Regions from separate parts of the Homo sapiens genome. Here region 1 is linked to region 2. The links are contacts of gene promoters, found by promoter capture Hi-C in human tissues and cell types (Jung and others, 2019). All regions are on one chromosome and are shown on one strand. The core of a region is centred on a gene start or on the middle of the fragment in contact, and the rest is flanking DNA. Distances in the headings are between cores, read along the strand shown. Region 1 overlaps THRAP3 (thyroid hormone receptor associated protein 3). Region 2 holds the start of MRPS15 (mitochondrial ribosomal protein S15).

Region 1 (4,530 bases), core at 321-2,820, 180 kb after region 2:
GAAGGTGTGAAAACTGACTGAATTAGGAAATACTGGCAATAAATTCAAAAGAACTGTGCTCATATTCAGTAAGATAAAGTGATGTTTTCAATAGCGATTTTTAAAAAGTTTTAAGATACATTTACTAAACAGATGCAGCTTGTTAGTAATTGGCACATTGTATACAAATTACTCCTGATAAGTTTCTGTAAGTTTATTTTAGTGAGTTGAAGCTTCTTTTCCTTGCCATGTTGTTCATATTATTAATCCTCTTAGCTATCCTTTCTTTGCAGTGATGCACATAAACTTTGGTTCAAGCCTTCAAAAATAATTTGGTGAAAAATAATCAGCTATAGAGATTTGAAGCAAGCAGCTCAAATAAAAATAAAATGTTCTTTCTTCCAAAGTGGGTGGGAAATACTATGTGCTGGCAGAGGAAAGGAATCAGGCAATCAGCATGGCAGTCAAAGCTGATCTGGATTTGTAGTTTAAAGAGACCTGGAATATCTTATAGCCCAACCCTGCACCTCAAGCCAACCCCCCAGTCCATTTGACACTCACAGGAAAAGTCTAACAAAAGATCTTCAAACATCCACATCGACTGATGCAATGATTATCTCAATATACAAAGTCACACCCCCTTACCTCAGCCTGCGCTTCCTTGAACGAGAGAGAGATCGGCTTCGGGACCGAGACTTCGAAAATGAACGAGAACGAGATCTTGATGCAGATCTTGAGCGAGAAGAGCGAGATCCAGACTTGGATTTGTTTGTTTTTGACATCTCTGAAGAGAGGATCACTTTTCAATTACACCTAATGTAAGAAAATGCATTAGAACAAATGAGTGAGTTCCTTTGCAAATGTGAACCTCTTTGGACATTTTAGAAACACATTTCTTTTAATCTGGGCAACTTGAGAAGACCCCATATCTACAAAAAAAAAAAAAAAATTTTTTTTTAATTAGCCAGTCACAGTGGTGCGTTCCTGTAGTCCTAGCTATTTGAGAGGCTAAGACAGGAGGGAGTGCAAAGTTACAGTGAGCTGTGATCACACCTCTGCACTGCAGCTCTGGAGGAAAGAGCAATACCCTATCTCCAAAAAAAAAAAAAAGAGAGAAAGTGGCTGAGCACGGTGGCTCACGCCTGTAATCCCAGTGCACTGGGAGGCCAAGGTAGGAGGAGGACTGCTTAAGTCCAGGTGTTCAAGACTAGCCTGGGCAACATAGCAATATCCCGTGTCTACAAAGTTAAAAAAAAAATTTTTTTTTTCTTGAGATAGGAGTTTTGCTTTTGTTGCCCAGGCTAGAGTGCAATGGCTTAATCTCAGCTCACCACAACCTCCGCCTCCCGGGTTCAAGCAATTCTCCTGCCTCAGCCTCCCAAGTAGCTGGGATTACAAGCATGGGCCACCATGCCCGGCTAATTTTTTTGTATTTTTAGTAGAGACAGGGTTTCTCCTTGTTGGTAAGGCTGGTCTCGAACTCCCGACCTCAGGTAATCTGCCCGGCTCGGCCTCCCAAAGTGCTGGGATTACAGGCGTGAGCCACCGTGCCTGGCCTACAAAGTAAAAACTTTTAAAATTAGCTGGATGTAGTGGTAAGGGCCTGTAGTCCTAGCTACTCCAGAGGCTAAGGTGGGAATGGCCTGAGGCCAGGATTTTGAGACCAGCCTAAGCAACATAGGAAGATTCCCCCACCTCTACAAAAAAAACAACTGTTTAAATAAAATAAACTTTAAAAACAGAAAGTAACATTAAAAAAAAAAAAAAGATGAAATGACTGATTTTTAAAAACCACTCTGCTCTTTCATCAAAAGGAATTTCTTAGTAGTACAAATCCCAAACAGACCAAGCCACAGCAGCAAATGGAAAACCTGACATGTAACCCTAACTGGGTAATACTGTAAGAGATGACCAAGAATGAGGGTGCTTATTAATTTTGGTGCATGCAGTCTTTTCTCAGTAAGCAAAGAAGCTTTGAGACTAAAGTCAGCTGTTAATAAAAGTAATGAGGAGATGTGAGACAGGTTTCCTAGTTCCAAGAGAAGAAACCGCATGCAATTTAACTTAGTTACAGAGTATGTGGCACATCTAGTCATAAAGAACCATCAATTTGTTCCAGCTCTTTATTACAAAAGAGTCAGCTGGGGGCGGTGGCTCACGCCTGTAATCCCAGCACTTTGGGAGGCTGAGGTGGGCTGATCACCTGAGATCAGGAGTTCAAGACCAGCGTGGCCAACATGGTGAAACCCCATCTCTACTAAAAGTAGTGGCGGGTGCCTGTAATCCCAGCTACTCAGGAAGCTGAGACAGGAGAATCTCTCGAACCCAGGAGGCAGAGGTTACAGCGAGCCAAGATCGCGCCATTGCACTCCAGCCTGGACGACAAGAGCAAAACTCCGTCTCAAAAAAAAAAATAAATAAAAATAAAGAGTCAACTTTCTTTCAGGGTCATTTTCCCACCAAGAAACAAATAGTCTTTTTCCTTTTTTCCCCCTCCAGGAAAGAAGAGCGCCTCTAAGTTGCCCTGAGAGGTTAACGCCTGGTCTACAAGGTATACTTCTCTCCTTTATACTCTATTAGCGCCTTGGACATCTTCCCAGCAGTAAAAACTTTAAGTGCTAAAGTACATGTCTATCAAAGACAGTAAGAGTAAGGAATCTATCAAAGATCACAAAGCTAATTAATAGCCAAACCAGGCCCAAACTCCAGGGCCTATTCTATCACACTTTGCTGCCTAGCGAGATTCTGCCAAGTAATGCTGCCTCTTGTCTGTGAAGGGAAAATAATAATCAAATATTTCTCCCCTCCTACCCCTCAGAATTTGAAGATCTCAGCTCAAAAGCTATCTCCTCAGAGGTTCACCCTGACCACCCAGTCAAAAATAGCCACCAGTCATTCTCTAGGTCCAGTATGTATCTTATTTGTTTCTTCAGAGCAAAACTCAGTATGTGAAACTATCTTGTTTACTTGTTATTCTGTCTTTAATTAGAATGTAAGCTCTATAACAACAGAAACCTCATCTTTCTTTATTTAGTGCTGTATACCCAACGCCCAGAATAGCAAATGCTTAACCAGTGTTTTTATTAATTCATTTTATCCTTGAGGAGGGCATTTTTAATCCCGTTTTACAGATAAGAATTTTGAGGCATAGAGAAAGTAATTAACTTGCCCAAGGTCATACTGCCAAAATCCAAACCACGATCGACTTGCTCATTCATTAATTCATTCAGATGGGGTCTCCCTGTGTTGCCCAGGCTGGTCTCAAACTTCTAAGATCAATGGATCCTCCTGCCCTGGCCTCCCAAAGTGCTAGGATTACATGCGTGAGCCACCCCGCCCAGCCTCACCGTTGGCACATTTAACCACTATGTTATATTGCCTGTCTAGAGCAGTGTCTGGCATACAAGGGGTACTAACGAACTTATGGAACCAATGAATGCCAAGTGTCCACCCTTACCAAGTTTACAATCTGATAAAGGTGACAAGATATAGATAAACTGAAAGGTAGTATTTATTTTTGTTATATTCAAATAAAATACTTGAATTTCAAGAACTTTCCAAAAGACAAAAAACGCCTAGGAAGCTGCTATAGCTCCATCTCACAGGGGAAACAAGCAAAATCTTAGAGACATAATTTAGAGGAGAACTGAGAAACTAATAAGAAGTCAGAGACAAAAGGTGATGAGTAAAAGACTGCTAGATGAGGATGCCAAGAACCCACGGTTTTAATCCTGCCAAAAAGATCACACTGTTGCAAGCTCTAGCAAGGTCAAAGATATTTCAATTTGGAGCTATTTTTGGCAGTAGTGTCACTATATGAAGTCAGAATAAAGGAGTAAGTTATTCAGGAGTGGGAGGTGGAGGTATAAACAAACAATTTACAATGAGAATATTAAAAATAAAAATACATTTTGTTTTTTTGGTTGTTCTTAAGCATTATTTTGGGGTTCTCTGGGTTCACTCTTGCCAAATGGAGACCTTTATTTCTGTCACAAGTTCAGGGATATCTATCTATGTCTGCCTAGTAACAGACTGTCTAACATTCTATTTTAACTTGGGTCAGAAATAAAAATCCATCCAGATGACTTACACAACAGGTGGATATTATCAGACTTTAAAAGAATAAAAAAGGGCAACAAGTTAGTGGAAAAGGAAACACTCATTTCAACACTCAGAAACTAGAAAACTAAGAAGCTAATTTTCATTAAGATGAAGAAAAGCTGCCATGTAAATACAAACAGAGCCAAACTTAACAATTCTGCACATATTAAGCTTACCAGAATTGACAAGTGCACTCAAGAGCTGCAATACTGTGACGCCCCCCGACTCCCATTCCCGGAGCCTCCTCTTTAACATGAATTGAAACTAATTATTTTATTTATGTATTTATTTTATTTTATTTTTATTTATTTATTTTTTTTTGAGACAGAGTTTTGCTCTTGTTGCTCAGGCTAGAGTGCAATGGCATGATCTCAGCTCACTGCAACCTCTGCCACCTGGGTTCAAGTGATTCTCCTGCCTCAGCTTCCCAAGTAGCTGGAATTACAGGCG
Region 2 (4,535 bases), core at 87-2,586:
AAGAGACTTTGGAAAAACTAACCCCTGTTGGGGAAATAAAATTAAAGACAAAATCCCCTGCCAACGCAGAAAACCTCTTCACAAGGGTAGAAAAGAAAGAAAACAGTGTTATTATTGAATAAGCATTAAACCGGAATGTGATACACTGGTGATCCACTAAAGAGACTGCAAAGAGACAAAAATCTTACTCTTTTATGTAGCAAAGTGAATACAACTTACTGTATCCATTTTCTCAAGATAAACAATAACTGGTCCTCAAGCAAGAGGACTTGGCTGCACCTCACTCTAAATTTACCTGGTAAGTGGGAAGCCACCTGTGTCTGCTAATTGCCTTTATCCAAAGGAAAAATCGATTTCCCCTATCTTTATAACAAAGGGTAGGTTGCAACTAAGAGCTAGGCACCAACTGAAGTTAGGCTCCTACCCTCCCACAGGAACTGAGAGAGAGCACTATCTTCCTTAATTATTACATTTCAAAGGGTTGGCCCCCAGGTCCTTGAGAAAAACATTCCGGGGTTGTAAAACTGGCAAGAGGTTTATTTACCTTTTAAGAAGATTTACATTCATCGCAAAGCAGTAGAGAAAGTATTCACAATTACAAGTTTTCTAAAGTAAATGCTCTCAGAAAAGTGAGGGGAAGGAGTCTTTTCCCTTTTTGCGCCAGGGAAAATTAAATTTTCTTTTTCTTCTAATTTGTATCCACCCTTACACCACTCATTTCACAAATAACGTCACCGTAAAGATTTACTAAATGCTCACTATATACCAGGTGGTCTGCATACAACTCAGTTAATCCTCTCAACAACCTAAAAGAGAGATATTGTTATTACTATCCCTACAGGGCCCACATAGGTTAAGTGACTTGCCCACAAGATCACATGTTGAGTAAATGGCTGAGTTAGGATTCCAGACCAGGACTGTGCGATTCCAAACTCAGCGACTTTAGTCTCCAGGCTACGAGGCTGCCAGAGACATGGCTGAAACCCAGTAGTAGTTCTTACACGGTCCCATCCTTGTCTAAGGGAGGGGTGAGGTGGGGTGGAGAGGGGATTGGGTTGGGGGTAGAAGGCTACCGCAGGCGCCATGGACCTCCCAAAATAACCCTGGCCCGAGGGCCAGGAATGAGATTAAGGACGGAACGCATGCCCTCCAAAAAGTGGCATTTTAGAATTTATACAGCACCCCAGCACGCTGCTAAACGTGGGCACACAACCACCACGGCCCGATCACGCGCAGCGGGAACCCGGTCTCTGAGCTCCGCCCCGTGCGTTGCGTCATCAGAGTCACGCCACCTAATCCATTCTCTCGGTCTTCGTCTGCTCCGGTATTGCAACTGCCTCGATTGGTCGATCCTGGGCCAGCATGGCGGCGCCCATGTAACCCGGTCCGTGCCGCAAAGCGAACGGCGGCCGCGGCGCGGGCCCCGCGGGGGTTAGAGGTCACCATGCTGAGGGTCGCGTGGAGGACGCTGAGTTTGATTCGGACCCGGGCAGTTACCCAGGTCCTAGTACCCGGGCTGCCGGGCGGTGGGAGCGCCAAGTTTCCTTTCAACCAGTGGGGCCTGCAGCCTCGAAGTGAGGAGCTGAGAAATGGGACGGCGGGCGTAGGGAAACAGGGTTCGGCGAAGATAGGGAATAAGGAAGCACAGGAGTAGGGGAGATATACAGCGGTCAGGATAAGGGGGAAAGGGCGGTGGTTGCGCAAGAGGTGAAACAAGATGTGAGAGACAAGGGGTAGGGAAGAAATGGGGCAGCGGTTAGGTTCAGAAGCGCATAGACCGTGGCGGACGGGCAATGCGAGGGGCACAGAAAGGAACTGAGGGGTGGGCTATTTAAGGAGATGGTCCTCAGCCCTCTCTTTTCTGCGTAGGTCTCCTCCTCCAGGCCGCGCGCGGATATGTCGTCCGGAAACCAGGTAGGAGTTCCTAAGGTGGGACTTGGGGCGGAAGAGAGACCTCCTGGAAGGCTGGGGTGGGTAAGGGGACCGATGTGGCGAATTAGAGCCACTAGATGAGGTGAGCCAGAGGTCCTGAGCAAAAGACCCCACGTCCACCTTACACAAAGCCCTAGGCCTGCAGCCTGTATGGGGACAGAGGGGTGTGAAGGGCGGGAGCAGGAGCTTTCCAGGTGAATGAGTGAAAATGAGCTTCCCAGAGGGAGTGCATGGCTGGCACCACCCAGGCCTACCTAGAGTATGGCACTTTGTGTCTGCGCTTCTGAGATGCAGGATGTAATTTCCCATTGCAACTCAGTATGCATAGTAGTTAAGATCCTTCTTATTAGGTAAATGATATGGGGCAAGGTACTTCCTCTCTCTGATTCTTATTTCTAAAATGAGTGTGAAAGTATCCATTTGCAAGGATTGTTAGGATTCAGCGATAATACACGAAAAGCACCCTTAACGCTGTGCTCAATTAAATATATTGATAGTATATATTAGAATTTATTATCTGGGGCCGGACGCGGTGGCTTACGCCTGTAATCCCAACACTTTGGGAGGCCAAGGTGGGCAGATCACTTGAGTTCAGGAGTTCGAGACCAGCCTGGCCAACATGGTGAAACCTCGTCTCTACTAAAAATACAGAAAAAAATTAGCCAGGTGTGGTAGCGCGCGCCTGTAATCCCAGCTACTCAGGAGGCTGAGGCAGGAGAATCGCTTGAACCTGGGAGGTGGAGGTTGCAGTGAGCCGATCGTGCCACTGCACTCCAGCCTGGGTGACAGAGCGAGACTCCATCTCAAAAAAACAAAAAAGAAAGAAATTATTGGCTGGACATGGCCCCAACATTTTGGGAGGCCAAGGCTGGAGGATCACTTGAGGCCAGGAGTTCAAGACCAGCCTGGGCAACATAGCAAGACCCAGTCTCTACAAAAAATAAAATAAGTAGAATTTATTGCTATTAATATATTTTTAATATAATTCTTTTCTGCCTCCCTATCAGAATCAACTTGAGCTGTTACAGACAGAAGAGGCCCATTAATGTTATTTGCATAGCAGGGTCTGACTGGAGAGGATAAGTCCATCTACTCTATGCCTCTTCCTCATCTCCAAGGGATAGCAGGGGTGCACACACCAAGACTGAGGTTTTCCTGTGATCTCTACTTGGTGCTTACATTTCAGGCATCGTACAGCTAGCTGCCTTTCCTCAACCCCCTTAATTCATACATGCAGTCAGCCAGCAAGTGTTTGTTGAGTGCCTAGTCTAGGCTGAGCCATGGGCCAGACTATGGTGGATTCCAAGGGAGTCAAACTCTGTCCTATCCACAGGAGGACCCATCCTAGTGGGGGATCTGAGAACTGTAGAGCCAGATAGGTGTGTGAAAGGTGCAGGCACAGTGTAGGGTCTTGGGAAAAGCCACCTACTCGCAACATGAAATATCAAAGCAGGTGCCCACGGAGTTTGCAAAGGAGAAACTGAGCCGAGAGATATCCAGTGCTTTGCTTGAGACCCTGAATGTCCCTTCTGGAGTTGGAGAGTGGGTGAAAAGAGCCAGGTCTGGGAGGGTGGGCAGCGAGAGTTGACTCTGGGTGTTTTCTATCCCCATATTTACTTGACAGCCCAGTCTAGGCTGGATGATGACCCACCTCCCTCTACGCTGCTCAAAGACTACCAGAATGTCCCTGGAATTGAGAAGTAAGCAGGAAGAAACCTAGTAGAGGAGGCAGGGGGCCCTGGGAGGATTGTCGGGGAGTGGGGAAAGACAGTGGCTTTGAGACTTGGCTTGCTGTAGCTGAAGCTTGATCTAGAAGGAGGCAGGGGCCCAGGTGTCCAGGTGTGGTGAGGGTGGGTGGTCAGCAAGGCAGATGGCACTCATGGAGCTCGGCTACTTGGGGGTTTTTTTGTACTCTAGATGAACACCCTGTACCACTAGATTCCAAGGAGCTAACATACTTCACAGGTCTTTGTAGAAATCTCTCATCTCTTGTTCCTCACAAAAGCTGTATGTCCCCATTTTATAGATTTTCAAGCTGTCCAGTGTCATACAGTTCTAAAGGGCAGAGCTAGAGTTTGAATCCAGGGCTGACTGACACCAAAGCCAGAGGCCCTCTGCTCAGCTCCTATGCAGTGTGGTGGGAGCTGGTCAGTCCCTCCCACTGTGCAATTTAACTTGAAATGTCTCAAAACAGATTGAACCATGTTGTAGCTAAAATGGAAATCCTCTCCTTGCCCTCCCTGTGATGAGACCGGAACAGTCGAGCTGACAGCCCCAGTTTCTGTAGTTTCAGCCCAGCAAGCCAGATCCACACTGACTTTTAATCCCTGGGAAATGGCTCCCCACCTCCAGGGAGATTCATTTGCTACAGAAGGAATTTTTCAATCATCTTTGCTTTTCAAACTAAAATGAAACCAGCATTGCTTTCCTCTCTTCTCCCCCAATGTCTGTCTCATTGCTGTGGTTTATCCACAGGGTTGATGATGTCGTGAAAAGACTCTTGTCTTTGGAAATGGCCAACAAGGTGAGCAGCCTCTGCCAAGCCTCAGCCTCCCGCAGTCTTCTCCTCTGGGACTCCCTTCTACCCTGATTAGCACCCCGCA

The links. The method cuts DNA at HindIII sites, captures the fragments that hold promoters and counts their contacts. A contact is called where the count stands out against the background at its distance.
Region 1: a fragment that was not itself captured here is called in contact with the fragment with the promoter of MRPS15 in region 2 in 1 of the 25 tissues and cell types used here (spleen).

What each region holds. Positions count from the first base shown.
Region 1 is chr1:36,278,795-36,283,324 of GRCh38, reverse strand. THRAP3 (thyroid hormone receptor associated protein 3) reads right to left here. Exons shown (of 12, transcript NM_005119.4): 3 at 625-792. The coding sequence starts at 761. Among named protein-coding and RNA genes, the nearest start is that of SH3D21, 25 kb to the left of the region's middle. The HindIII fragment of the contact is 3,063 bases long and covers 39-3,101 here.
Region 2 is chr1:36,461,185-36,465,719 of GRCh38, reverse strand. MRPS15 (mitochondrial ribosomal protein S15) reads left to right here and starts at 1,336. Exons shown (of 8, transcript NM_031280.4): 1 at 1,336-1,574; 2 at 1,870-1,914; 3 at 3,557-3,632; 4 at 4,408-4,456. The coding sequence starts at 1,445. RefSeq lists enhancers at 523-1,424, 1,181-1,430, 830-2,029, 1,425-2,328. The HindIII fragment of the contact is 17,048 bases long and covers 1-4,222 here.